Regions from separate parts of the Homo sapiens genome. Here regions 1, 2, 3, 5, 6 and 7 are each linked to region 4. Evidence: promoter capture Hi-C in 16 types of primary human blood cells and fetal thymus (Javierre and others, 2016). All regions are on one chromosome and are shown on one strand. Each heading gives the region's core, a stretch centred on a gene start or on the middle of the fragment in contact. The rest is flanking DNA. Distances are from core to core; before and after follow the strand shown.

Region 1 (3,926 bases), core at 941-3,440, 300 kb after region 4:
CCCCTCAACTTGTCATGCCAGTCCCCACGAGTCACCCAGCTTTCCCCAGTCTCAGTTTCTCCTCTTCATAGAGGGAGATGGGTGGATGGCTGTCTTGTCACTCTGTGCTGGAGCCTACTGCAGTTGTAGGGTTGCAAGACTCAAATGAGACTCCATAACCAGAAATAAATTATCTTCACTGCATCTCAGAAGACTACTTTGTTACCCGCTTCAACCTCCATACCTTTATGTGTGAGGCTGAATGCGAGAGTGTGTGTGTCAGAATTTAAGACCAATCTACCAGAATGCAAGCTTGGCATTTAAGGATATTCTCTGGAGAGAGGATCCATGATAGTGGAATCACCCCAGCAGAGGCTGAGGTGACAAACATTGAGGGGGGACATTGAAGAAGCGTCAGGGGAGGTAGTATAGAGTGTATGAAGGATGTTTCGACTCCTGGTTTTATATAAGAAGTTGGCTCTGTGCTCACTCCCCATGGGAAGTGCATCTGGCCCTTTTTGCACCTCAGTTATTAACATCTGCCTGTTCTTAGACTGAGTATATTTTAACACTCTATTTACATATACTAGTGCTGATAATTTTTTAACTGAAAAAAAATTTCTGGAGAAAATGACATTAAGGTTATTTAATTCCTTCATCAATTTGGTATCCAGAGTTAAATTGCCTCAATTTTTTTAAAAAAATTATTTTACTAAACTTGTTTTCATCTGGACAAATCCCTTTTATTGTAAATTTTATAAAAAATGTCTCCTTTGAATTTAAATCAATTTTTACCCATATGCAATTGTAAACTATCTTTTGTGGCCATAACTTCTACAAAGTCCAAATTTCATGTCTAAAAATGTTACCTAAATTTCTGAGAATATTTTGATATTTTAACAAATATTATTGTCATCAATATTTACTGTGTATAATTTTGCTTATTTTCAGTCTATCTAAAATGATTTCTATCAAATTTATTTTTTGTCTGTTTAATCATAAGGTGATTCTTTGCCCAATGTTTCACTTTCAACAATTTTACTGTGTGGAGTTTTAGCTATTGTTGATTTATTTGTGTGTTGATTGCTTCTATTATGCTTGATTTTTTTTTTTTTTTTTGAGATGGAATCTTGCTCTGTCACCCAGGCTGGAGTGCAGTGGCATGATCTTGGCTCACTGTAACCTCTGCCTCCCAGGTTCAAGCGATTCTCCTGCCTCAGCCTCCCAAGCAGCTGGGATTACAGGCATGCACCACTATGCTTGACTAATTCTGTATTTTTAGTAGAGATGGGGTTTCACCATGTTGGCCAGGCTGGTCTAGAACTCCTGACCTCAGTTGATCCACCTGCCTTGGCCTCCCAAAATGCTGGGATTACAGGTGTGAGCCACTGCACCTAGCTGCTGCTTGATTTTTTTATAATGTGTCAATTGTGTAAATGTTTACTTTACCAGCTAGTTATGATTCTTGAATTAATTTTTTATCTGTAATGGCAGGTTCAAAATGTTCACATAAGTTTCACTTTTACTTTTCTAAATCTGCATTAAAATGGCCTTGTACTTGAAAAAAGTTCTTTTTTTCTTCTTTAGAAATACATGTTCCATATTTCTCTACACAGATACAGAGGAGGGGGAAAACATATGTTCCTGTGGTAAGCAATCCCTTACACGTGGAGCCAAGGTAGAAAACAGGCAGGAATGATACGAAATCTGAAGTGAGGACTGGCTCTGAGAATAGCCATATCTAGTGGCAGCTGTGAGAGACCTATAACCAATGACAAGTGATGTCTTGGCTTGTAAAAAAAAGTCGTGACTCTTTAATAATTGCCATTCTGACTGGCATGAGATGGCATCTTACTTTGGTTTTGATTTGCATTTCTCTAATGATCAGTGATGTTGAGGTTTTTTGCATATGTTTGTTGACTGCTTAAATGTCTTCTATTGAGAAGTGTCTGTTCACATCCTTTGCCCACTTTTTAATGGTTTTTTTTCTCATAAACATGTTTAATTTCCTTGTAGATTCAGGATATTAGACCTTTGTCAGATGGATAGACTGCAAAAGTTTTCTCCCATTCTGAGATAGTTTCTTCTGCTGTGCAGAAACTCTTTAATTAGATCCCATTTGTTAATTTTTGCTTTTGTTGCAATTGCTTTTTATGTATTTGCCGTGAAATCCTTTCCTGTGCCTATTTCCAGAATAGTATTACTAGATTTTGTTCTAGGACTTTTATAGTTTTGGGTTGTAAATTTAAGACTTTAATCCATTTTAATTTAATTTTTGTAAATGGTGTAAAGAAGGGGTCCAGTTCCAATTTTCTGCACATGGCTAGCCAGTTCTCCCAGCACCATTTATTAAATAAGGAATTATTTCCCCGTTGCTTGTTTTTGTCAGGTTTGTCAAAGATTAGATGGTTGTAGATGTGCGGTCTTACTTCTGAGTTCTCTACTCTGTTCCATTGGTCTATGTGTCTGTTTTTCTATCAGTACCATGCTGTTTTGGTCACTGTAGCCTTGTAGTGTAATCTTAAGTCTATTTGTGGGAATGTAACTTAGTTTAACCATTGTGGAAGACAGTGTGGTGACTCCTGAAAGACCTTGAACCAGAAATACCATTTGACCCTGCAATTCCATTACTGGGTATATACCCCCCAAAATATAAATCATTCTATTATAAAGATACATGCACATGTATGTTATATTGCAACATTATTCACAACAGCAAAACTATGGAATCAACCCAAATGCCCATCAATGATAGACTGGATAAAGAAAATGTGGTGGCTGGGCCCGGTGGCTCACGCCTGTAATCCCAGCACTTTGGGAGGCCGAGGTGGGTGGATCACGAGGTCAGGAGATCCAGGCCAACATGGTGAAACCCGGTCTCTACTAAAAATATGAAAAATTAGCTGGGTGTGGTGGTGCGCACCTGTAATCCCAGCTGTTCTGGAGTCTGAGGCAGGAGAATCACTTGAACCCAGGAGACAGAGGTTGCAATGAGCCGAGATTGCGCCACTGCACTCCAGCCTGGCAATAGAGCGAGACTCTGTCTCTTAAAAAAAATAAAATAAAATAAGAAAAGAAAAAGAAAATGTGGTACATGGTACATATACACCAGGGAATACTATGTAGTCGTAAAAAGGAATGAGATCATGTCCTTTGCAGGACATGGATGGAGCTGGAAGCCATTATCCTCAGCAAACTAACACAGGAGCAGAAAACCAAACATCACTTCTTCTCACTTATAAGTGGGAGCTGAACAATGTGAACACATAGACACAGGAAGGGAACAACACACACTGGGGTCTGTCGGAGGGGGAAAAGCATCAGGAAATACAGCTTATGCATGCTGGGCTTAATAACTAGGTGATGGGGTGACGGGTGCAGCAAATCACCATGGCACGCATTTACCTATGTAACAAACCTGCACATCCTGCACATGCACCCAATAACTTAAAATTTAAAAAAGAGAAAGAAATCACAGCCAGTTCTCATTTGTGCTGAGGGGAATTCAGCAGGGGTAACCAAGCAGAAGCCAGGGCTCCCTGCTGAAGCCACAGTGCAGGTGTTAAATGTTTGGTGATTGCCCTAGTAATGCACTGTGTGGAGAGGCTAAAAACTGCTTTCTCCTTTGAGATCTCCTTGATGCCTTATCTTTCCAGGCTAAGTCAATCCCCCATTTCCTCCGAAATGTGTGTGATATTCTGAAGTGGAAATACTCTGAATTCCAGTTGCAGCTAAGGGCTTACTTGAGCATAGAAGAGGTTAAGTCTTCCGACTTAGGTCTCCTTTGTGGCTATTTGAAAAAATTCAGAGATGAGGATCTCCTTGGGTTCAGGAGATTGGTTTCCCAGGGGGACACCCAGAATCAGATTCCTGCACTGAGCAGACTTTGCATGGCTTCCCATGACCTGCTGCTATCTCAAGAATTTTTAAGTACTCAGAGAATGCCT
Region 2 (3,742 bases), core at 949-3,448, 420 kb after region 4:
TGTGTCCAAGCTGAACTTTTGGCTTTGGCATAGTTAGTTTGGGGTCCTGAGATTTTATTTGCTTTCATTTCGCAAAGTCAGAATAGTGGCTATTTCTAGGGGGAAGAGAGTAGAAAGGATTAAAGGGCAGGAGAATGGAGTTATTTTAGTTGCATTATTTTTATCTTTGTTGAGTTATAAGGCTATTCACTTATAATAGTTGGTAGAACAGTGTGTAAATGTTTTAGTGACATTTCTGTACTACCTAATAATTCTCAGTTTTAGAAGTGAAAAACAGTAAATAAAATGTTACAGTTTAAAAATATGTAACAGCTGCGTTTATTTTGTAAAACTATGTTACATAGCTAGCAGTTCTTAGCTGTTCTCATTGTGATGATACTCCTTAGGATGATCTGTGAGGTTTCTGATCCCCTGTGGGTTTATCCTCGTTAACTTTTATACTTTGAGGTTGGTTCCTCCTGCTTTCAGATGCTGGCAGCAATGCCTGACTTTAACCCATCAGATTATTAAGAGGATGATATTCACAATCTTTCTTATACCCATCAACAAACCAATCAATACAAGCTAATTATTCATTAGTGTAAATACAAACACTATGTATTGATAATCAATTCTGTTGGTACTGCCTCTGTCAGCTTGCGCCAAAGTACTGCAGTGGGAAAGCTCAGTTGTGTTAAGTCTGCTTCAAAGGGAGCTTGACCTCACCAGTGAATCTAGAAATGATCTATCGTTAGAAATAGGGAGTCGCTACATTCACTAAGTACAATTTGCCTATCCCTCACACACATGAAGACTGTCCTCTCTATTCCCATTTTGCTCTAGTTTCTATCTTTGCTGTTTACTTCAAGGATCAAAGCCTACGGCTGGGATTTTGACAAAGTGCCCCTCTTATGGAGTGTTTTCTTTGCATATGGAGTGGTCTCTAACAGCTTTTTTTTTTTTTTTTTTTAGCCGTGCTTCAGGACTTGGTCCCTTCTCTCTGTCACTCTCTCCACTTATGCACAAGATACCATCCACTCTTTCCTCCCGAAAAAATTTCATCCCAAGTTAAAAGTATACTTTTTCCGTTCCCTTGGATAATTCCACCAGCACACAGGGTAATAGTTTCCATCTTAAACACAAAAAGATCCCCTCTTAATCCCTGTACAGCTTCACAACCTCTCACTTCCACCTCATTTCTCTTCCCACTTCACACCAAACAAACTTCAAATGATTTGTCCATAGTCATTGTCATCACCTTGAAATGCTTTCCCTTCCAACCCATCTGAATCAAGATTTTTTCCAACCACTGCATTGAAACCATTTTTGTCAAAGTCACGAAAGACATTCATCTCACTAAATCCAGTCAACCATTCTCTCTTCATCTTACTCAATTTTCATACAGCATTTGACATGAGACTACCCCATCCTCCAAGCACTTTCTTCATTTGACTTTAGAACAACCCACTCCCCGGTTTTTTCTCTTACCTGGTTGCTTATTTCTTCCAGTTCTTCTTTGCTGAATCCCCTTCTCTCTCTGACTTCTAAATGCTGGCATCCCCTGAGATCAGTCCTTACCCTGCTGTTCTTTAGCTACATTTTTGCTTTCACCCAGCAACCTTATTTTAAATATTAATTATCTATGTGGTGATGTCTCCCAGAAATATAGCTTTATCCCTAAACTCTTATAAATTCAAACTTGAAAATTTACTTGCCTACTTGACAGTTTTACTTGGCTGTCAAGTACATTAAACTCATGTAACAAAAACAAAACTTACAAAACTTTTATTTTTTTCTTTCTAAACTTGCTTCTTTCTCTATTGTTTCTAAATGAATAAGTATTATCATCATTCACCCAATGATTCAGGCCAAAAGCTTTCATTCTCTAAATCTAATCCTTCAGCAAGTTCTGTCAGTTCTGTCTTCAAAATGTATTCTGAATCCAGGACCTTCTCTGCACCTGCACAGCTGTATCTCTAGCCCAGCCTGCTGCAGCCTCTCACCTGGTCTCTGACCAGGCTACACCTATCTCACTCAGTCCTATCTGGTCTACCTGACACTGCTTTTGACTTCCCACAGACCCTTTTTCACACAGCAGACATAATTATCCTTTATAAATAAATATGATATCAAGTTTCCTGCATAACATTCTCCAATGACTTTTCTTTGTATCTTAAATACAAACTCCTGACTGAGGGCCTAGAAGATACTATGTGACCTGCCCCTCACCTATACGTCCAATCACTCTCTCTGTTTATTATGTTCTAGCTGTATTCGCTTGCTTGCTTCTTCTTGCGTGTCCCAAACCTATTCCCATTCCACAGCCTTTACACTTGCTGTTCCTTGCCTGGTATACTCAACCCAAATTGCCCGGTGACTAGATTCTCATCCTTCAGAATTCTCTCCAGATTCTTTCTTCCAACTTATTTAACTCTAGTTCCTCATGCTATGATTTTCTGTATTACCTTGCTTCGTACTGTAATTCATCTCTATCACCATCTGAAATTATATATAGTCAAACTATTTTTAATGGACTGTCATCTTCTTTAGAATATAAGCTTCAAGAGCATTATGCAACATGCAGAATTAAAATGATTTCTTCTCACAGGACTCCTGATAACTCTAAAGTGGTCATTTAAATCTTTAAGATGTGAGTCCCAAAGCCCTCTTGCTCTGGGGAGAACAGTTTCCTTCACCTTAGTGCTATTCAGATAGAAATTGGCCACGATATTAACCTCTGACTGTTATTTTTGAATAGCACAATGGAGTGAGATGAGCTGGGTCTAAACTCTCCCCAGGACAAATATTTTTCAACCCAATGAAAGATTTATATTTTTATTTATTTTGATGTGCAGTGAAATATCTTTCTCCCTTACCTTACTTCTTGAAAAAGAATGAAGCACTGTTGCTTTGAAAAGTTGACAGACTATTCTAATCAGTCATCCTCAGGTTTGGATTTGAAGGTAAATTGGTCAAGAGTAAAGGTCCAGAACATGTTTCCTGAAGCTACTATAAGTCAAACTCTAATCCTAACCACAGATAAATAAATGGTTTAAACCAAATAGCTCAGAGGTTAAATTGTACCCTGAAAAATATGCTTTGAGCTTCCAGGAGACTCAAAAAATATGAACCTTTTTCCAAGTTACTAAATCAAACACTTGGCCCACTGATTTTTAAAAAAGTAAAACCAGCATAAACTAAACTATATTACCCTTGTAATGGGACTGTGATAGGAAAAATTATAAGTATCTTCAAGAAAACTCTAGAACTTTAGATGCTACAGATAGTGCTGGTAAGCAAATAATACCTATTTCACAAGGCAAAAATCTTTCAAATTACATTCTATTAAAATTCATAATTTTGATTGCTCTGCTAAACTTTGCAGAGTTGGCTCTGGCTTAAATATTAAGAATTAGGAAAGGAGGTAACAGGAGAAGAAGCTAAAAGCCAAAGACATCCCGTTCTCATAATGTGTTGCTGGAAATGGCATTGCATTTAGTTTTACCTTGGGTTATATGGGGAAGTCCTTGTTATTACTGATCTCCACTTCATTTCAAATAGGGCAATTTTCAAATGGACTCTCTAAGTGTAGGTTTTCTGAAGTGATTCTTTTGTAACACTTTTATTTCTGGAGGCACTCTGCAAAACCTACAAAAAATTTTGAAAATTATTTCCTGCAAAAAATTTGAAAACAAAATCTATTTTACTTTTTTTCTTTTTGCCCTATAGCACAGATCCAACAACTAAAATACATTTCTGAAAA
Region 3 (3,844 bases), core at 442-2,941, 350 kb before region 4:
TGCAGGGGAACAGGCATCCTGGACTAGCAGGTTGGGTGAGGCAAAGAAAAGGGAAGACACAATTTTAGTCATCCTTCATTCATTCTTTGGACAGGCATCACTCTTGGGAGCTCTGGAGTGTGAGGATCTTTGGGAGATACAATGTTGACTCGGAGGAGGTCCCTACTCTCCTCCTAGGACTTCAAGCCAGTAAAGGAGAAAGCCATGATCACAGATAAAAGCAACCTGAGAAGTAGCAACAAAGTCCTGCAAGAGTGCGAGAGTTAGGGGAGGAGGGCGTGACCGCTGACTTGGGGGTTGGAAGCCTTCATGGAGAAGGCTTTGGGAGGCTGCTGTCTCCCCTCTGCTTGCTGGGGACAGAGGTCAGGAAAGCAGTGAGGCCACATCTTCAGAATGAAAAGTAGAATTTCTGTGGTGAAGCCACCGTGGGGCTCTTGGCCTGTCTTCCTGCCCTATTTGTATTCATCAATCCAGCCTACCAGACAGCCATCTCTGCCACAGTGCTCAGACGACCTATATACACACCAGCCTTTCCCAGAGATTTATTTTTATATATTTACTCTTTAAGCTTCTAGTAAGTTGCCCACATTTTTTTTGGTAGACCTTATCAGGTTTTTTTTTTTTCCAAATGTGTCAAAAAGGAGAGAAATGTAAAAGGAAAAAAAAAAAGAGGAGGCACTCTCCAACCTGCCCTTGTGATTTCACCACCAAGCCCAGGCACTGGGGTGGAGACATTTTAGGTCTTCCCTGAGGTTTGCCAAGTTCCTCACCCCAATTCTTGAATGTTCGAAGACTGAGAGAGAGTATTTTGTCTTTATGATCTGCTTAGTATTTATGCTTCCATTGCACAGTGGAGGTGGAGTCTGGGATCTGAGCCCTGGTTCTCTATCTATCATCCGTGTTCTCTTGTGCAAGTTAACTGCCAACAAGCCATGAAGGTGCAGGCTGGGAGACACATGGGTTCTTTTTTTTTTTTTAGATGGAGTTTCACTTTTGTTGCCTTGTTGCCCAAGCTGGAGGGCAATGGCACCATCTCGGTCACTGCAACCTCCGCCTCCCGGTTCAAATGATTCTCCTGCCTCAGCCTCCTGATGTACGGGTTCTTTAGCACTTGTAAATGAAACAAGTCACTTCTAGCTCAATACAAATCACCCTATGAATTCTAAGGGGCATTAATAGGAGCATGATGTCTAGAATGAAGGAGGTGATGGTCCTATTTCACTGGAGCAGGTGGGAGCGCACCTCCAGAGGGCTGGGCCCCGAGGGCTAGGTGTGAAGAAGGTTCTTGCAGGCTGGAGTGTTTGGGCGGATGTTGTTGAGGCAGAAAGCACAGGAAATATGGGCAGGCCAGAGGTGACTTCTAAATTCCCTTCCAATGCAGGGAGTTTGTGAATCTATGAACCTTTCTTTTTCATTCCAGGAAGCAGCTGCTTGGGGAGTGGAGGTCCAAGGCTTTTCAGATTGCTGGTGTGGTACCTAGCTATGGAAACTACTGAGCAGTCAGGTTCACAGAGTTAGTGCTTGAGTGCAGCCTTGACCCCTGGTCTCACCACCGACAACACCAGGACCCCTTTAGGATGGGTGTTCAAGGCCCTCCAGGAGCACCTCTTGCTAAACCTCTGCTGCCTCATGCCTAAATACCTCTCTGCCTCCCTCACAGGCAAAAGAGATCCAGACGATAGAGTAACATCAAAGGTTCTGTGAACTGCAGGTGAACAGACGATCATCTTCACCTACGGGGCTCATCGCCGTTTCATTCCTGTGCTTCTCGGGAGGAAAGTTACCGCGGAGCAGCCCCTCAGCAGAGGAATCCGTGGTGGAAACCCAAGCGTCCTGGCTGCAGTCTCCTGGGAACTGGAGTGTGAATGCTTTCCTTCTGACGGCAGACAGCTGAGAACCTGCAGGGTTAAAAGTGCACAGTCCGGGAAGGTTCTGTTCCCAGGACAGCGCTATCGAGTCCACTGGGCGCTCCACGCGGTCTACCTAAAGGGAACAGCCTGCGGCGTCGGCACCCTATTCATCTCTAAGGGTGGGGAGATGGAAAAATACCGTGCTGCTTAGCATTGATGAAGCGCTTGCTTCAGGGAAACTGACTAGAATCTATTTAGTCTCCAGAGCATTTCTGAGAGGCAAGCAGGCCTCAGGGCACTGCAGAGGGACCACATCTTTTTCTAGAAAGCCTGGGAGAGAGCAGAATGAGGCCAAGCCTGAGGGCTTCTGGCTCCTTCTCTTCCTTGTGTAATGCCCTTTCTGACTGGTGTGAGTGTCAGGGCTCCGTGAATAACCTACTATGTGTCTCTGGGTGTGAAGTTTGGGCTATGGGATGTGTCTGCACAATATCCTAGAGAAGGAAACATTTTGTATCTGTCAAAAACCTACTAGGGATGTCAAAATATGAAACAATATTTGTAAATATGAAATTCTGGGGAAAACGTGGCAAAACTCCTCAAGATTGACAATAAGAAACAAAGAGAAGTGGTGAGCTTCCTCCTACAGAAAGGCCCCTGGCTCCTGCATTCCAAGAGCTGGTCCCTGCCCCAGAAGGAGGCCACAGGGCCTGTGTGGAGGGGTCTCCACAGTTAGGGAAGGATGAAAGGTCACCCTCCCCAGCACAGCAGATCCTGCCACCTTGTTCCCACCTGCCCTTCTGCCTTGTCTGCCAGCACATCTTCTTTTAAGCCCGGCTTTCTCCCCTTTACTCTCTGGCCTCCATGCTGCTTCTCCTTCCTCTACTCCCCACCTTCCATGACCACCTGCTGTAATTTTAATCTTTCTATAGTGTCCAGTCCAACAGCACCTTCTCTGTGAAGCTTCTCCAATTTTCCCAGCTGGACAGAACTTCTGTATATTCATAACCCTTCCTATGCATTTGTGCCTTATTATGTTTGTGACTGTCTTCTCTTCTATAAGAGATTCAACTCTTAAAGGGCAAGAGCCATGTTTTGTTTATCGTTGCAACTCCTAAAGTGCCTAGCATGCTGCCTTTTATTTAGTAAGGCCCTCAAAAAGCTTTGGATGAATTAAATGGAATCATCCAAATTTTCCCTGCATTCAATTCGATTTCTTTTTCAAAAAAAGGTCTTCAACCTGGAATTTCTCACTGAGTGAGATGCTTTCATCTGCAGTGGCAGGCAAGGTTTCAGAGGGAAAGCATTTTTATCTCTTGCATGTGGCTTTCTCAAAACCTTTCCCTTGTGAGAATATATAGCAATGTTCTTTCCTTCTTGTCATCTCAGTGGATTATCCAGTTCTCCTCTGTCACAAACACATTTGGATTTTACCATCACTCTTTCACCAGACAGGAGCTTTCAAGAAAATGAGGCCTCAAAGGTAGAAGAGCCTCTTCCAGCAGAGTCCCTCTGTCCTGTTCCATTTAGGAGCTGGAGGGCCTGTTAGGTGATGTGCCTTGCTACCAGTGGTGTCATCTGCATGGCTGCCCTTCCTCAATCAAAGAAGGGCATTCACAGGTCAGAATCTGTAGAGAGCAGTGGCCTGGGATGCCTTATGTATGGATGGGAAACAGCTTGTAGATTTGTGGCTGCATGAAGCAAAGATGCAACTCAGTCTCATTGTGTTTGAATACATGTCAGTGAGCTAGTTTTGCAAAACCCATGAGGCTGTGGTGATGAAGTCATGTATCAATGAGACTCGCCAGTGGACACTGCTTGGCTCTTCCTGTCTGACTCTTGCAGCTGCCAAGCATGTTTTCCACATCACTAAACAAGACCACCCCTCCCTTGGAGCTGGAGTCAAGGAGAGGAAATACTATCCACCAGAAAAAAATCACAACCACACCGTCCAACTATGAGCATTAGTCTTGGAGCTGCATTTCTGAAAAAAGTTC
Region 4 (3,842 bases), core at 1,300-3,799:
TTTTTCTGTAAAAATGTTACGGGGATGTTAGGAAGTTAACTGTTCATTAATTAAATAATGAACATAATTTATGGGGCTCTTACTACCTTGAGCTAAACACCATGGAGTGTAATAATGACTGAACCTCAGTTGCTGCCTTTAAAGAGTGTAGGAGACTGACACGCATATTCAAATATGTACTAGGAGTGTGCTCTTGAGCTGAGCAGAAAAGTGGCAACTTGCAGGGGTGGGGTGACAGCTTCTGTGAGGGAAATTCTTTGTGTACTGCAAATGTCCATGTGAGGAAAAGACTGAGAAACACACTCTATATTCTGCCTAGATTGTCAGCTTGACCTTCCCTTGTGTCTTCTGTGACCTCCTGAGATCCTTTCACCTCCATTCTATCCTGGATCCTTTGCATCTCTTCCAGCATGAGGACCTCCCATTGATCTGTTTTCTGTAGTTCCATGACTGTTGGCCATGCAAGACAATTAATTAAAGTATGGGATACTTTACTAGGTCTTAACTGCATTTTGAAATCTTGGGGACTGAAGTCCCAGAACGACAAGAACATAAAATCACTGTGACTCTACCTCCTCATCTCCTCCCCTTCTCTGTCCTCGACTTACACTTCCATTGTTCTCAGAGGACTTCCCTTCCACTACTTCCTCCTGTACCACCGTCCCTTTTCCTTTCAGGGCTATTTCTCCTTTTTGTGCTCCACTTATCTCTGCTTCTTGATCTCTGGGGTGGTAAATGTTAGTCTTTTGGGGCAATTGATTTGGCATTTTAAATGAAAGTAGTGGGGAGAGGGGAAAAGATTCCACAGTGAAATTGTCTTAATGTAAGATTCAAACCACAACTGCAGAGAACATCTGTTTTGAAGTTTGATGTTGTCTTTGTAACCCAAGAGAAAAGCAGAGTAAGATCAGAGGAAGGCCTTAGCCTTCCACCAGGATGAAACCACCTGCAGCCTTGGACAGTGGGTGAAATCCTGTAGCCCTGGGATGCAGAGCTTCTAGGAGACTGGCTGTCCTCTTCTCTCATATTATTAAAGGATGTTGGTTCTCTTGCCATCTGTGCTATTGCCATTATCCCTCTACCTCCTCAAGAGTCCAATTCAGGACAATTTAAATTGGAATCCCAATTACATGATCCCCAAAGGCTCACAGAGTAGCCTGCATTCTGCATTTGCAGCAATTCCAGGCAACATGCTCAGCCTGCTTCAGGGAAGCACACAACACTGAGTGTGGATGAGACCTCAGAACCCTCTAACCTTGGGCAGCTCCTTACCTCTTCCTGTCTGAGCCATGTTTGATTTGCTGCAAGAGGAATACGTGTCTAAACTGCTGGATTTTAAAATGTCGCTTGGTCTGTGGATTAGGCCAATCCACCCCACATTGTTGGGGCTGCAGATGCAGTTGAATGGTTCATAATTATAGTCTAAAGAAACTGCAGACAGCAATAGAGCCAACCCAGGCCCTTTCTCTCCTGACAGCCCATGCCAAGCTGTCTCCCACAGGGAACCATAGTGTGGTTATCCTGCAATGTATTTGCCCAAAGACAATACATCCAGTGTAGAGAAGTTGGATTTCTAGAAATTGAGTCTGCTCATCTATCTACTCCCATGTCCATTGTATCCTGTCTTGTGTCTCAAGGGTGTCTGGTACTTCTCCTGCCAAAGTGAAATGCAAAGTAAATGCAAGGAGATGCCAGGGAGAGAACTGCTATCAGGGCATCTGGTTCTAGTACTGACACTGACTTTTTTAGATTGTGTGGCCCTGGAAATAATAATTTCCTCACTCACACTCATTTTTCACCTCTGGTAAATAGGAGTGCTGGACTTGGAGAGCACTGATAAACTCCCATTGAGCTCTAACATGTGACAAATCCAAGACCTAAGGTTTTGTCTCCAAAGAGGCACTACAAATGTGATCTTCTTTCAGAATTTAAACTGTCACTTTTCTGTGACTCAAAACAAATATAAATCTAGTTCTCTTCTCCAATCAGGTAGTTCTCGAATTTCTCAAGTGAGGCTGATGCTGGGCAGGTTGCCAGTTTAAGAACTGAGGAAGGGTCTTGAAGAGATTTTTAAATGAAATGTGGTGATAGTTGTTCTATCTCTCGCTGGAGATCGTTCAGGAAAATTGAGCATCCAAGCTATTCTGCAAAGAGATGGCTGTAGACAGACATTTAATGTGATTTCCCACATATTCTACCGTATACTAGATCTTAATAACAATAATCAAATACTAATTCTCACCTAGACACTGTGCTAAATTCTTTGCATACATTATCTCATTTAATCATTCAAATAGCCTTAAAAGGTGTGTGCTGCTATTATCCCTAGTTGAAACATGGAGGAACTGAGGTTCGGGATTGTTTAAATGACTTACCTGTGGCAATTCAGCTGGCTAGTTGGTAGAGTAAGAATTTGAACCTGAGTCTTATTCCAAAGCCCACACTACTATCCTCTTTGTTTTCTTATATTGAGCTTTCCAGGGCAAACAGGCTCCCAAGTCCTCCCCTCTCCCCCAACCCCACCCCACCCTCCCTTCTTCCCTCCTGACTGCAGCTCCTCCTACCCTCATTGTTTATTGTGCCTTCTAAACAATAGCCAATGAGTCTGTGTTCCATTCTAGGGAGAGCTAGGGCTGATTTTATTCCCTGAAACAGAGATGAGGTTGTGACACAAAAAGGTTAAGTGGCTTTGGTGAGGTCACAGAGCCAGCCTGCAGTCAGCAACAGTACCATCTGAGTCCCCTGGCTTGGGTCCCTTAACTGACCCTAAGGCTTTTTGGCATCCAAGTTTAATTAAGAGAGTTATTTTAATTTTCCTTCCTATCTCTAATTTTCCATTTTATTGCTGCTTGATAATGTAGATATTGAAGTGCCAGGCATTTTTCTTCCCTAGTGTGACTTTTAATGACTAAACTTCTCACATAGAAACCACTTGCCTTAGAAGTAAGCTTTCAAAGCTTGTTTCTGTGTATGACAGAGACTGTTGCCTTTTCTCAGAGAAAAATGAGACCACAAATGCAGCTCAGACAGGTTGTTGTTAATTGAGGGCTTTTTTTTTTTTTTTTTTTTTTCTAAATCTTACATTTATACCAGTAAATCAACATCTGTGAGTCATAAACTGGTTCTGGATCAGCCGTTAGTGGTCTGAATGTTTTTGTACCTACCTTCAGTAAAGCATATTTTAGCTCAAAACTCAGAGATTCTTTGTTTTGTTGAAGTTCAAGACTCAGGAGTAGATAACATGCTAGGACACTTCTGGAGAGGGAAAGTCTGTCTTCCATGATTGTTCAACATTAAGTGTATATTTATATTTCTTTTTTATTGAAGTTGGGGTGGAGTTGAGGGAGGAGTATAAATAAAAAAGAAAGTATGCTTTTTACATACTCCATGTGCTTGAGGAATTCCTGTATGAAGGTGACTATTTTCTTAATATTATTGTCTAGCTCCACTCTTCTGTTCCCCAACTCCTGCGGACTTTTCTTGGCCCTTATTGACTTCACGTTCCTAGTGTAAGGCAATTCAGCACTTGGTAGGATATAATTAGCCGAAGTCTAAGGAATGCTTAAAAATACAATTCTGTTTTTTCCCAAATGCAGGAGGAACAGACTGCTGCAGTACAAGCACAAGCACAGAAGTATTTATTTGATTGATTTTTTTTTTTCCTGAGTGCCTTAAAAACCAGATATGGTATTGAAGTATCTTGCCCAAGTGGATGAAAGGCAACGCTTGGCTGCTGTTGTTTGGCTGGTGGGGACACTGAGGCATACATGTAACCGAGTGGACGTGAGTGCTGGGGATAGAGGTTCTGCTCTACTATGAAGGGAAAAGGGCACAGCCTCTGA
Region 5 (4,283 bases), core at 1,043-3,542, 290 kb before region 4:
TATGATTTGGTTGCTGGGTTGAAGCCACTTGAAAAATTGGATTCATTTGAGTTTTGTGTCTTGGATTCTGATCAGGTGATCACTGAAGTTTGTAAATATTCAGTATAAAAGGAACAGGCTGAGAAGCATCAGAAATATCCTTATGAAGGCAGATCTAGCTATAACTGAATTAATTTTGCTTTTCAGAAATTAGTGGCAAGTTCATATTTCTTCCCTACAGACTAAGTCCCTATGGGTAGAGTTTGCATTCCCCACATTTTAAACTTCTCAAATGGATGTCTGATGCAAATTGATTTCCTAATGGTTATCTGTTCTGTTATGATTTTTTTTCTAAATGACAAAACTTTGAGTTATGCAGAAAATCACTGGATGATTTGATGTTCCTAAAAGAGACAAAGAAAGAGCGAAGGAAGGTAACGCTGTCAAGAAAAGCTGAGGTGTCTGGAAAGTATTGCTTGAATATATGCAATGCTTGATTAAACATTTCTGAAAGCCAGCGGCTCTGGGCAATATAATCATCAGTGGGGAAAGAGATATTGCATCTTCTGGGGAAACCAATTAACACCAAAGATTGGATTGGTAAAAATTGCTGGCAAGTTTTAACAGTGGTCTAGCTCCATACTTTAACTGCATCTTCCGTGATTTTTATTTTCTCTGTGTATTTCCGGAATTAACAGTAACTGAGCAGAACGGACAGCTCATGCTTCCCTCAGAATTTCTGGGCAGCTGTATTGGGTTTGGACACGTTTTGTCCAGTAGGTGTAGTTTGACAAATAGACATGTTCTGGATCTTTCTAGAAGCCAGGCACTGGCTTATAAAGAAAGAGTTAGACAAAGTTTCTGCCCTTCATTCCCTTATTGTCTAATGGAGGACACAGACTTCAGATACAAATAGATCCTGGGGTCTTGTATTACTCTCTCTTGACAGAACACAACAACCAAAAATAATTAAAAAGCCATGCATTCTTCACCCCAGCCTCTATCAAAAACATTAACGTTATAACCCAGAACATTGCTTTTTCATCCTTACCAGCCACACTTCCAATTTCTCCCCTGCACACCTAAAACAAGATTTTAACATTTCATTTTCTCCACTTGTCTGTGCCTCGTTCCTTATTATTATCTTGTTAGCCTCTCTGGTTAACTACTCCTTCATCTCTTTCTCTCCTTTCTCTAACTGCTTGCCAGATTCTGCATCTCAAAAGGCACAAGGGTGTGTGCGTGTGTGTGTGTGTGTGTGTGTGTGTGTGTGTGTGTGAGAGAGAGAATATGGAAGCAGGCAAAACTACAGTTTAATGGATCTTGTGGTCCCTTTTTGCCATGCATGGGCAACACATACACACACCCAATGAGATATGTGCTGTTGTAAATGTGTAAGCACGCATCTTCCCTTCTTCCTTCCCCTTCCTTCCCTCTTCCTCCCCCTCCCACTGAAGTCTTGACTGCAGGAGCCATGGGTGCAGCACAGCAAGGCAGGTGTCAGGGGGTAGTGATATCAGAGCCTGAACGGGGTGAGAAGGGCTTCCGTGTGGCGCGTCCTGATGGGAAGTGTTAGTGCCCAAGTGGAGTAAAGAGAGCATGGGACGCAGGGCGTGCAGCCTGTCCTGGCTGTCAGGGCTACAGCTGGTTGAGGAGGGTTTGCCTGTGGAGGCGTTGCCTGGGTTGGGGCATCAGAGCTTGAACAGGGTGAGAACAACATCCACACAGAGGCACTGCCTGGGGTGGGGTGAGGAGGGTGCCCATGCAGTGGGGTGGCCTGGATGGGAGTTTAGGGCCAATGCAGGGAGATGAACACGTTGCATGGAGGTGAGGGGTGCAGCAGAGATGGAAGACCGGGTGCATGCAGAAGGATTGACAAGGAAGGGCTTATAGGATGTCTAATGGAAACCATTCTTTTCACTGTCAAATAAAGGAATTACAGACACAAAAGGGGAATCAACATCCAGTGTTGGATTAGAAATGAATGCTTCTGAGTGAACTCAGGGTTTCAATATAGATAGGTAGTAGAAATAAATACAGAAATAGATGTATATGCATAGTCATATAGATAGCAGAAATAAATATAGATATAAATGTATAAGCATATACAGTCATGCACTGCATAAAGATGTTTAGGTCCGTGAAAGACCCCATATGCAATGGTGGTGCCACAAGGCTATAAAGGAGGTGAAGAATTCCCATCACCCAGTGACATCGGTGCTCATGCCCTGTGGAAGTGCAATGCAATCTTCATGTCTGTGGTGACGCTGATGTGAACAAACCTACTTCCCTGACGGTCTATGAAAGTCTAGCAGGTGTAGAGTACGTAATTCTTGATAATGATAGTAAACAACTATGTTACTGTTTATGTATCATTACTTTAAAATGATAGATTTTTATCATTATTTTAGAATGATAGATTTTAGATATACGTAGATAATGCCTACTTACATGTTTAGAAAGTTAACTGTAAAACAGCCTCAGGCAGGATATAGGCTAAATATGAATTCATGTCTTCATTTCTAACAAAAATTTCAAGGAGTAAAACGAAATATTTTTTTAAATAAAAACAGTGTATAGAATAAGGATATGAAGATATTTTTATACTGTACAATGTGTTTGTGTTTTAAGTTAAATGTTATTACCAAAGAGTAAAAGAGTTAAAAAATTTAGAACTTTATAAAGAATTACGGTAAGCTAAGGTTAATTTATTATTGAAGAAAGGAAAAGGTTTTGTAGATTTAGCGTAGCCTGAGTGTACAATGTTGACAGAGTCTGCAGTGGTGTGCAGTTATGTCCTAGGCCTTCACATTCACTCACCACTCACTCACTGACTCACCTAGATTAATTTGCAGTCCTGCAAGCTCCATTCATGGTAAGTGCCCTATACAGGTGTACCATTTTTTAACTTTTATCCTCATATTTTTACTGTACCTTTTCCATGTTTAGATACACAAATACTTCCCATTGTATTACAGTCACCTACAGTATTCAGTAGAGTAACATGCCGTGCATGTTTGTAGCCTCGGAGCAATAGGCTGTACCATGTAGCCTAGGTGTGTCATAGGCTGTTCTATCTAGGTGTGTGAAGTACACTCTATGATATTCACAACTGTAAAATCACCTAAGGACACATTTTCCAGAATGTATCCCCGTTATTAAGGAAGGCATGACTGTATATGTATGTATGTACGTGAGTGCATATAGTCACATACATACATACATAATATATGTGTATGTATGTATCTACGTCTATTGCCTGGCTCTGTACACTGAGGGAGCCTGGGAGCAGGGACACCCCATTAGCAATTGGCACATCTATCCCCCAGGTATTGGGTTCTAAATAGCATTTTCCACTAAAAAGAACTAGGAATCCATGAGGAGATGACTAATTCCAGGGCTAGGGCAGAAACTCCAAAATAAGTTGTTGTGCGAGAAAGTAAGGAAGCACTTAAAGACTGATGGGAACATGTCAAAGGAGACAGAAGCCAGCGTGAATATCCTTCCATTGGGACAATGTAATCATTAAAGAACAGATCATATCCACTCAATAAAATAGAGAGCCATGAGTCTTAGAGATATAAATAAATGAATGAATACTTTGCAATTTGATGTTGAATGGGATATTTACATATTTTGAAAGTAAACCTCCGCAAAATACTTATTAATTACAAAGGGTAAAGGAATAACTTTTCAAAGGAGAAGGCTGGGAGGCACCACCTTAAACAAAGAGTGAACTTCATCAATAACGGGATACGTTGAAATGATGTACCATGCAATGGAATACAGGAGAGGAAGGCAGCATGACTTCTGCGATGGTCCTCTCAGAAAAGCCTTGGCTCAATCCAATCGCGAAGAGATACCAGCAATCCCAAATTGGGGAACATTCTACAGAATACCTGACCTGTCATATTCAAAATTGTCACAGACCTGAAAGACCGAGGGAGACTAATGGTAGATGACAGCTATACACAATCAGTGTTTTAGAATGGGAACCTTTTGCTCCAAAAGACTGCAGTGGTGACAATCAGCCAACAGTGCATGGTGCCTCGGGATTACATAGGAGTAATCCGCTTGCATTAGTTATTCGATTCTCTTGATTATACTGGACTATGTAGGAAAAGGTTGTTGTTTAAATGAAATATACCCTTAAGCATTTGGGGTTGATGAAGCATGGTTGGCAAATTTCTCTTAAATGATTCACTAAAAATTGTTCGTCGTACTGTTCTAACTTTTCTGGAAGTTTGTGACTATTTCAAGATTTTACAGTTTTTTAAAAAATCACAATGTATATTCACAATACA
Region 6 (3,859 bases), core at 396-2,895, 330 kb after region 4:
CCCCCAAGGTGGGGAATGTCCAGCCTGTCCAAGGAAACACGAGAACTTGTCCCTCTGAGCAAAGTGAACTATGGAGGCTGCAGTGGAGAGTGTATCAGAAAGGACAGCGCATATCCTACTGCTCTTTGTAGGCCCTGGTAAGAACCCTGATTTTAATTCCATGCGAGATGAAAAGGCCTTGGATAGTTTTGAGTAGAATGACATTATCTGGCTTACATTTTAAAAAGATCACTCTGGCTGCCGTTTTGAAAATGACCTGCAGGAGTTCAGGGGTCAAAGAAGGTCAATTAATATTTAATTGCTAATTATTATTTCAACAATAACAATAGACATTTATTGGATAGTTTGATATTTACTTTATACCCATTATCTCATTAATTTTCACAGTCTGAGGGGTGGCTATCATCCTTATCCCCTTTGTGTAATTTCTAGTTGAGGTTTCATGGGATTTTTGTGACAGTTGATTCAACACACATGAGAGTGTGTGTGTATGTGTGTATGTGTCATATTTGACTTGAATATATTTAGTTTTGAAATAATTTTTAATTGACATAATATGAATATATTTGAGATTTTTATGCCAATTCGTACAGTATTTGGAGATGCTTAGAAAAACAGTGATTCTCAACCCTGGGTATACATAAAAATCACTAAAGGCTTTTAAATTGTCCTGCCTTAGAGATTCTGACTTAAGGAGCTGGTGGTGGCCCAGGCATCTGTGCTTTCGAGAGCTTTTCAATATCCATTCAGAATGGAAAAACACATTTAAGCGGACCTCCAATACCTGAAAGGACAAAATATGGAATATCAAAAATATCCCCAAATATTTTGATTTTGAATTACATTATTTTCAAGAAGTAAATGTATTACTGTCAAATTTGTGGACTACCTCTCACATGTTCATCAGGTCATACTGTGTGTATTTTGCAGGTGAGCTTTCTTCTGCCTTCTTCTTTTGCCCCGATTTCTTTAACCTCTTCAAATAAAACTGTGTCTGTTCTTATAAAGTACATTATTTTTAAAGTAAATTAAAAATATAGTACCTGAACACTTGGCAGATAATTCTTAATAAATATTTACCTAACTGCATGAACTCAAATTTTTATGAAAGAATAGGAAATTAAACAATAATTCCACAAATCATCAGGTTTCTATGGAGAGATGTACAGAGATTTCAGACCTAGAAAATATGGGCACTTAAAACCAGGGGTGTAAGAGGAGGGAAGTGATGAGTATGGGAGGAGAATTTTCTCTTTTCCCACAGTCTTTCTTTCAGCCCCGGCTATTTATATAAAGATATTACAGATAGCTACTTCTTGTCAAAGCTGGGGCTCAGGCAACAGCTCAGTGAGGCTAGGGAAGGTCAAGACCATAAAGCCACAAAGAAATAGCCTTAGGGACAAGAGAACTTGTGAGTTTTGTGCAGCGGATCAGAGTCAGGACGGGAATTTCTAGAAATGGGCTAGGATTCTTCAATAAAGGCCCACTGCTGTAACAAATCATGCTAACATTTCAGAAGCTTAATGGAGCAAGATCTACTTCTCGTTCATATTTGTATACAACGTCAGTCCATAATGGTGGAGAAGTGATACTTCGTCCATTGTATCACATTTGTTGAAGTGGGGACTCAGAAGTCCCCCATCTGCTGACTCGATGGACTCCAGGGAGTTGCAGTTCTCCAGATTCTCTTCAATCTGCTAAATCATGAACAAGCAGAGAGCAGATCATGGGATTCCGGGGGCCAGGCCAGAAATTCTGATATATAAGCTTCACCCTTATTCCATTGGTCAAATCTAGGTCACGTAGTGCCACCTCATAGCAAAAGGAAGAAAATGAAAAATGGTAGAATTGTCTGCCACAGGAGTTCAGGGACATGCAACTGAATGGTAATCTTTTTAAAAAGCTATTTGAAATGTGTTATCATTTCAGAAATTTCAAACATTAATATGTCTATTTCAGGAGATCACAGATAACTGATCTTTCAACGTGACATAATCAATTATCACATTTGAACTGAGAAACAGAGTCCACATTTTTTAAACATATTGTAAAAGTATAAAGGCAAAATAAATTTACTCTGTGCTAAATTAGGCAACAGCATTGGCTGCCTGATAGGGGAGATGTGGGAGAACCAGCATCAGCTATCTGGGATGGAGTCAAGTGGAGAGTGGGGTCCAGGGCCAGGAACTGAAATGTGGGGAAAGTGGGACATAAGGGAGTCCTATTGACACCCCTCACTCTGACTTCAAGCCAAGAGGTGAGCATTGGCTCACCAAGAGCCAAGAGACTGAATCAGGAGATGGGTGTTTCACTTTGCCCAGGCTTCAATTGTTGGATGGCGTTGAGGTGAGCAAAGATTCAAGTGGGTCTTTACGGTGCCTTCACATCTTTAGGTGGCCACACTCTCCCTGCTGCTCTGTGGTCTAGATACTGGTTCTCCTGAGTGCCTGAAGCCCTCTCATCCAGGACTGGTTGTGAGCACTGCATACGCCCTTTGATGAGGGTCGGTGGTGAGAAGGAGGGGTTCCAAGGCTGTGTTCTCACCTCTTCTGTGCTAGTGAGAAAACCACAGCTCGCCTGTTCTCAGAAGCTCACATGGACAAACCCTGTACTGGAAGGGACTTTAATATGGTCATGATCCCTTAATATTGTAAGACAGAGAAAATCTTTCAGGGTGTGGTTTCCTGACATTCCCCATAACGAAGAGTCTACAAGCTGTGTGTGTGTGTGTGTGTGTGTGTGTGTGTGTGCACGCGTGCACACGCACGTGCATGCACGTGCGTGAGAGAATTGTAGGAAACAAACTTTAAACAAAAACATTTCTTGAGAAACATCTTGTGTAGACCTAAACGTGCGTTATGATCTTTTGCTCTAGGCCCCATGTAGAGCTGAAACATTGTCCTGAAACTTGACCCCCCTTGGCCTACTCCCCTCATTGAGAAGTGCCCTTTCTCCCCTCATTGAGAAGTGCCCTTTTCAAAAGGGAAGTAAAAGCTGTGAGTAGCACCTATTTTGTCAGAGAGGCACAGGATCAAGTTCTACTTTGGCCTGCATGCACACTTCATGCATACATCATAATCTGTTTCATTGATATCCCCAGCCAGTCATACAACACCTTCTGATCTCTAGGTTTGGAGCCATATAAATAAATAAGAAAATAACTTTTTTTTAAATAAAAAGATTTCTAGACTAAAAAGGTACTTACTGGTTTCTTTCTTTCTTGTCTCTTTAATTTTGTATATGTTCCAGATATTTTTCTTGTTGTTTGGAATAGAAGTTTTGGTGAATTTACTTTAACATTTTGTTATAGACTTTTGGCCTTGTGATACGAAGACAAGTTACTTCTTCTTGCCCACCAGCTAGACAATTAGCTAGTCAATCAACCAACAGATGCTTAATAAGATCCTACTATATGCAAAAGCATTCTGGTAGCTACAGTAAAGTTTAAAGCAGAGAAAAGTCAGTTCTGCCTCTATTTTATATATATCTATATAATGTGTATATATACACATATCCATATTTTATATTAACATATGAATATGTTAATATATATGCATGTTTTATATGCGTATACATGTATATGTATATTTGTATATGCACAAATATACATATACATGTATATGTATATTTATATATACATATGCATGTGTACATTGTATATATACATATACATTTGTATATATGTATTTATATGTATATATACACATATGCATACATGTATATATGTATATATGTATATGTACATATATGCATACTATATGTGTATATATACACATATGCATACTATATATGTATACATAATTACATATAAAAACATGCATAATTACATGCGTATATGTATATATAATTTTATATCACA
Region 7 (3,693 bases), core at 592-3,091, 330 kb before region 4:
AGGCCCTCACTCCTGGGCTTGCACCAGGGAGGCGAGCCCCAGTTATCCCGCTCTGCAGTGGCTCCCAGGAGCAGGGGTATGTTTCTGACGACAGTCACCTCTGGCTATTGCTCTGATTCTGCCTTTCTTCAGGTTGCCTGGGTCTATCCCATAAATGAGCCTGTGATCACTGGGTACAAGCTCCCTTGCAGCTTCCTTTCTGTCTGAGGTCCCAGGGATACCCGCTAGCCCTGCTGCTCACATCTTGCCTCCTCACTCGGCATGTTTCTCTTTCTGTTCTAAATGTCCCAGCTCATGCCCCTCCATGGTACCATCCCCATTGACCCCAGCCCCACTAGGGCCCCCAATCCTGGGTCTCAGCTGCCAGTGAATGCTGCAGCCCTGCTTCAGTTGCTCAGTCAGCACCCCACGCAGAAAAGCGCCTCGGGCGGAAGCTGGCGGCACCAGAGTTTCTGTCTTTGCCTGCGTAGCCATGTGGGTTAGGGAGCCCCAGGGACGCCAACAGCCAGACCACAGGCGGGCTAATTTCCAAATGCTGACACAGTGAATGCCACCCATATTTCACCAGTGACTGGAGAGCAGATGCTGGGCATTCGTGGGCCCTGCTTGTGCCTGGGGATGGAGAGAAGGCAGGACACTTGAGGCAGATGCCAGTGCTGCCTCTGAGCTGTTGATGCTCCCTGCCCTGGAGTTCACAAAAATAATCCTCTACATGGTGCATAGAGTGTTTTTGTGTTTTTTGAAGTATTACAGGCAGGCCCCGGCGACATGATCTTCGTCTCCCAGATAGGGAAATTCTGAAAATCAGGAAAGGGGCTGGGCGTGCCCCTGTCACATAGCTGGTAATTGGAGCTGGGTCTCTGGCCTTCAGGGCACTTTCCTCTGTGGTCACACCTGGGTTTCAGAGCCACCTGGCCTCCACTTTTCTGAGCAGCTTCCTTCAGCATTTTCTTGTTTCCTCTGTGCTTGCATCCCGCCTGCCCCTTGGGGTCACCCTGTTTCCAGGCTATTGCGTCTCCAGGCCCCTTGGTCCAGCTGATGTGGGTTACAAGGCCCACCCGTGAGGTGGCAGTGGGCTAATTTTCAATAATCCAGTTGGTGACTGTTCTTCAGAGAGAATCTTCTGGAATCTCTGACTTAGTGACGGCACAGAGACTTCCTGAGTTCCTTAAGTCACGTCTTCCTTCCCTTAAGTCACTTCTTAAAAAAATCAATTCATTTCTACAAGAACTCATGTATGCATTTCACACAGTGAAACCTGTGCAGTGTCACGCACTTATATCAGACGGTCATTGCCTCTCTTTTACATTGTCAGTATGGAATTCTTCACGGGAAACCTGCCACAGTGTCCTGCCGGCCTGTCTAGTCAACAGTTCTTCATGTCTCACTGAAGTCCCTCTTGCCATAAATCCAAGTCATGTTTCTATAGTGTCGCTCATCCATCCGGATTCTCCCAAGCACTGCATCATTTAATCTGAACGATGGCCCTGGGAAGTAGATAGCATCATTGTCATCTGACAGATGAGAAATCCGAGGCCTGGCTCCTGCCCGGTCTGGGGCCAGACAGGTGTCCTTCCGGGCGCCCTTCTGAAATCAATGCCGACCTCTCTTGCGCAGTGCCCTCGGCAGGCGCCAGGGGGCGCTGCTGCTGCTGGTAAGCGGGAGGCCCGGCGGAGGCGAGTGTGGGCCTTGCCGCGCCTCCTCTCCCGCCTGCGCTTTGCTGCCCGCCGTCTGCAGCACCAGTGCCTACTTACGGGTACTTTTCAAGGTCACTTCTAGTTACTGTTTCTTTCTAAGTCCTTATCACAATCTATAATTACTCTGTTTATTTGGCTCCTTTTAATTTCCTGCCCAGCTCCCCCACTTCCCTGGGTCTTGAGAAGGCCGTACCCCAGTGCCCAGCACAGGCGGCTCCCACTACAGATGCCCTGAGAGACGCAGACGGGAGGGCTAGCCAGGAGAGGGCACGCAGGGAAGGGAGGTGAGGAGGGAGGGCCAGCCTTTCCCCCAGACCTTCCTTCCTTTTCCCTCCTGCCTTAGACATAGGAATTCACTCATCTTCTGGGCCAGATCTTTAGGGAACTTGGCGTGGAGACATCAGGTTAAGATCTGGGTTCTGTCCGGGAGCGGTGGCTCGGGGCTGTAATCCCAGCACTTTGGGAGGCTGAGGCAGGAGAATTGCTGGAGGCCAGGAGTTCAAGGCCAGCCTGGGTAACCTAGTGAGACCTCATCTCTACAATCAATACACTAGCCCGGAGTGGGGCACTTGCCTGTGGTCCCAGCTACTTGGGAGGCTGAGGCGGGAGGATCCCATGAGATGGGAGGTAGAGGCTGCAGTGAGCTATGATTGTGCCACTGCACTCCAGCCTGGGCAACAGAGCAAGACCCTGTCTCAAAAAGAGCTGCGTTCCTACCCCAGTTCTGCCTCATATGAGTTTTTAAAATTCTCTAAACCTCAGTTCCCTTCCTTGTCAAACAGAGAAAATTAGACCTACTTCATGGGGTCGCTGTGAGATTGAATGAAATAATTTCTGCCAAGCCCCTACCACAGTTGCTGGTATGTGACAGAGATTCAACAAGTGTCTGTTCCTTTTCCCCTGTGGGAATTCCATGCCTAGAAGGGACTAACCATTTAACCCCAATCCTGTAGAGTGAAATCAACCCCTTATGTGCCTTCAATCACATAAGAGGGGTGACCTGCCTGGTGGCATGGGGGTCTGGTAGCAAATACACTACCACCTTTCAGGTCTGTGCCAAAGTCACATGGGAAAGGATGAGTTTTAATGAGTTTCTTCCAATAATTAAACCCAAGGTAGACATATAGCTACCAACTGAGTCCTATAGTAGACTAAATTCTAACCTTCTAGCTCTGTGAACTTGGATCAATCACTTAGCCTCTCTGGTGTTTGATCTCCTCCTTTAGACACTGGGAATAGTAATGCTGTCTATGTCACAGAGTGACATAGACGCTCCGTAAACTACTGAGTTTACCCCTGGAGACCGCCTGGAACACAGTGAGATCTGTTAATGTCAGTGATTTCTGGTCCATGGATGAGAAGGAAAATTACCCCAACTGAACTAGTTTCAAGAAAACTTTATGGAACATTTATTATTGGCCAGTCTCTTTTATACATCTTGTCTTCCCTCACCTTCAAATAACTCTGAAAAGTATGTGCCCTTCCCATTTTTCATTCATTCCTCCATTCACTCCTTCAACAAACCCTAGCTGTTGCCACGGAGACACGTGCCATTTGAACAGTTGTTAATCGTCAATCAAATATGGTGGTGCAGAGTTGACATTTAACTGTTCTTGCCTGTTTTTCATGGTAGGGCTCACTGCTGTGTTGCGAACCTCCTTAAGGAGTGGATGTTTTTCTCTGGGCACTTCTGCTTGGTCTGTAGCATGCATTTCCTTGTCTCTTCATTCTTAGCTGCTCTTACTTGCCAGTGTTCTTTGCCTCCGCATCCCTTCTCATCCCTCCCCATCCCTCGCCATCCCTCGCCATCCCTCCCCAACCCTCGCCTTCCCTCACCATCCCTCCCCATCCTGCCCCATCCCTCCCCATCTCTCGCCATCGTGGAGCTTCTCGCATTCCCTTTGCCCACTCTATTTTATCTACATTTTCTTCAGTTTCTCCAAGCTCTTGCACAGGGTTTAGCTGCTCTTGCACTTTTTAAAACTTTTAAACCCTT

What was found. Contacts are between HindIII fragments. The CHiCAGO score rates a contact against its expected background, and 5 or more counts as called.
Region 1: a contact is called between a fragment that was not itself captured here and the fragment with the promoter of ETS1-AS1 in region 4, in 8 of 17 cell types (non-activated CD4 T cells, total CD8 T cells, total B cells and 5 more). The highest score is 13.7, in non-activated CD4 T cells.
Region 2: a fragment that was not itself captured here is called in contact with the fragment with the promoter of ETS1-AS1 in region 4 in 5 of 17 cell types (naive CD8 T cells, total CD8 T cells, non-activated CD4 T cells and 2 more); the score reaches 7.6 in naive CD8 T cells.
Region 3: a fragment that was not itself captured here is called in contact with the fragment with the promoter of ETS1-AS1 in region 4 in 2 of 17 cell types (total B cells and naive B cells); the score reaches 5.8 in total B cells.
Region 5: a contact is called between a fragment that was not itself captured here and the fragment with the promoter of ETS1-AS1 in region 4, in 6 of 17 cell types (activated CD4 T cells, naive CD8 T cells, non-activated CD4 T cells and 3 more). The highest score is 10.4, in activated CD4 T cells.
Region 6: a contact is called between a fragment that was not itself captured here and the fragment with the promoter of ETS1-AS1 in region 4, in 14 of 17 cell types (total CD8 T cells, non-activated CD4 T cells, naive CD4 T cells and 11 more). The highest score is 36.5, in total CD8 T cells.
Region 7: a contact is called between a fragment that was not itself captured here and the fragment with the promoter of ETS1-AS1 in region 4, in 9 of 17 cell types (total B cells, naive B cells, naive CD4 T cells and 6 more). The highest score is 15.2, in total B cells.

What each region holds. Positions count from the first base shown.
Region 1 is chr11:128,222,420-128,226,345 of GRCh38, reverse strand. The region is part of intron 3 of LINC02098 (long intergenic non-protein coding RNA 2098); the gene reads right to left. Among named protein-coding and RNA genes, the nearest start is that of LINC02098, 16 kb to the right of the region's middle. The HindIII fragment of the contact is 3,793 bases long and covers 294-3,926 here.
Region 2 is chr11:128,101,127-128,104,868 of GRCh38, reverse strand. It overlaps LINC02725 (long intergenic non-protein coding RNA 2725), which reads right to left. Exons shown (of 6, transcript NR_183639.1): 2 at 3,485-3,627. Among named protein-coding and RNA genes, the nearest start is that of LINC02725, 7.2 kb to the right of the region's middle. The HindIII fragment of the contact is 683 bases long and covers 1,857-2,539 here.
Region 3 is chr11:128,874,450-128,878,293 of GRCh38, reverse strand. No RefSeq gene overlaps it. Among named protein-coding and RNA genes, the nearest start is that of KCNJ1, 9.1 kb to the right of the region's middle. The HindIII fragment of the contact is 2,242 bases long and covers 571-2,812 here.
Region 4 is chr11:128,524,849-128,528,690 of GRCh38, reverse strand. It overlaps ETS1-AS1 (ETS1 antisense RNA 1), which reads right to left and starts at 2,549. Exons shown (of 4, transcript NR_120581.1): 1 at 2,376-2,549; 2 at 1,273-2,158. All of the region lies in intron 3 of ETS1 (ETS proto-oncogene 1, transcription factor), which reads left to right. The HindIII fragment of the contact is 5,425 bases long and covers 1-2,950 here.
Region 5 is chr11:128,816,711-128,820,993 of GRCh38, reverse strand. No RefSeq gene overlaps it. Among named protein-coding and RNA genes, the nearest start is that of KCNJ1, 48 kb to the left of the region's middle. RefSeq lists an enhancer at 1,126-1,632. The HindIII fragment of the contact is 6,751 bases long and covers 1-4,283 here.
Region 6 is chr11:128,189,140-128,192,998 of GRCh38, reverse strand. No RefSeq gene overlaps it. Among named protein-coding and RNA genes, the nearest start is that of LINC02098, 18 kb to the left of the region's middle. The HindIII fragment of the contact is 248 bases long and covers 1,522-1,769 here.
Region 7 is chr11:128,857,974-128,861,666 of GRCh38, reverse strand. All of the region lies in intron 1 of KCNJ1 (potassium inwardly rectifying channel subfamily J member 1), which reads left to right. All of the region lies in intron 1 of LOC107984409 (a long non-coding RNA gene), which reads right to left. Among named protein-coding and RNA genes, the nearest start is that of KCNJ1, 7.5 kb to the left of the region's middle. RefSeq lists a silencer at 1,499-1,793 and an enhancer at 1,694-1,953. The HindIII fragment of the contact is 4,002 bases long and covers 1-3,693 here.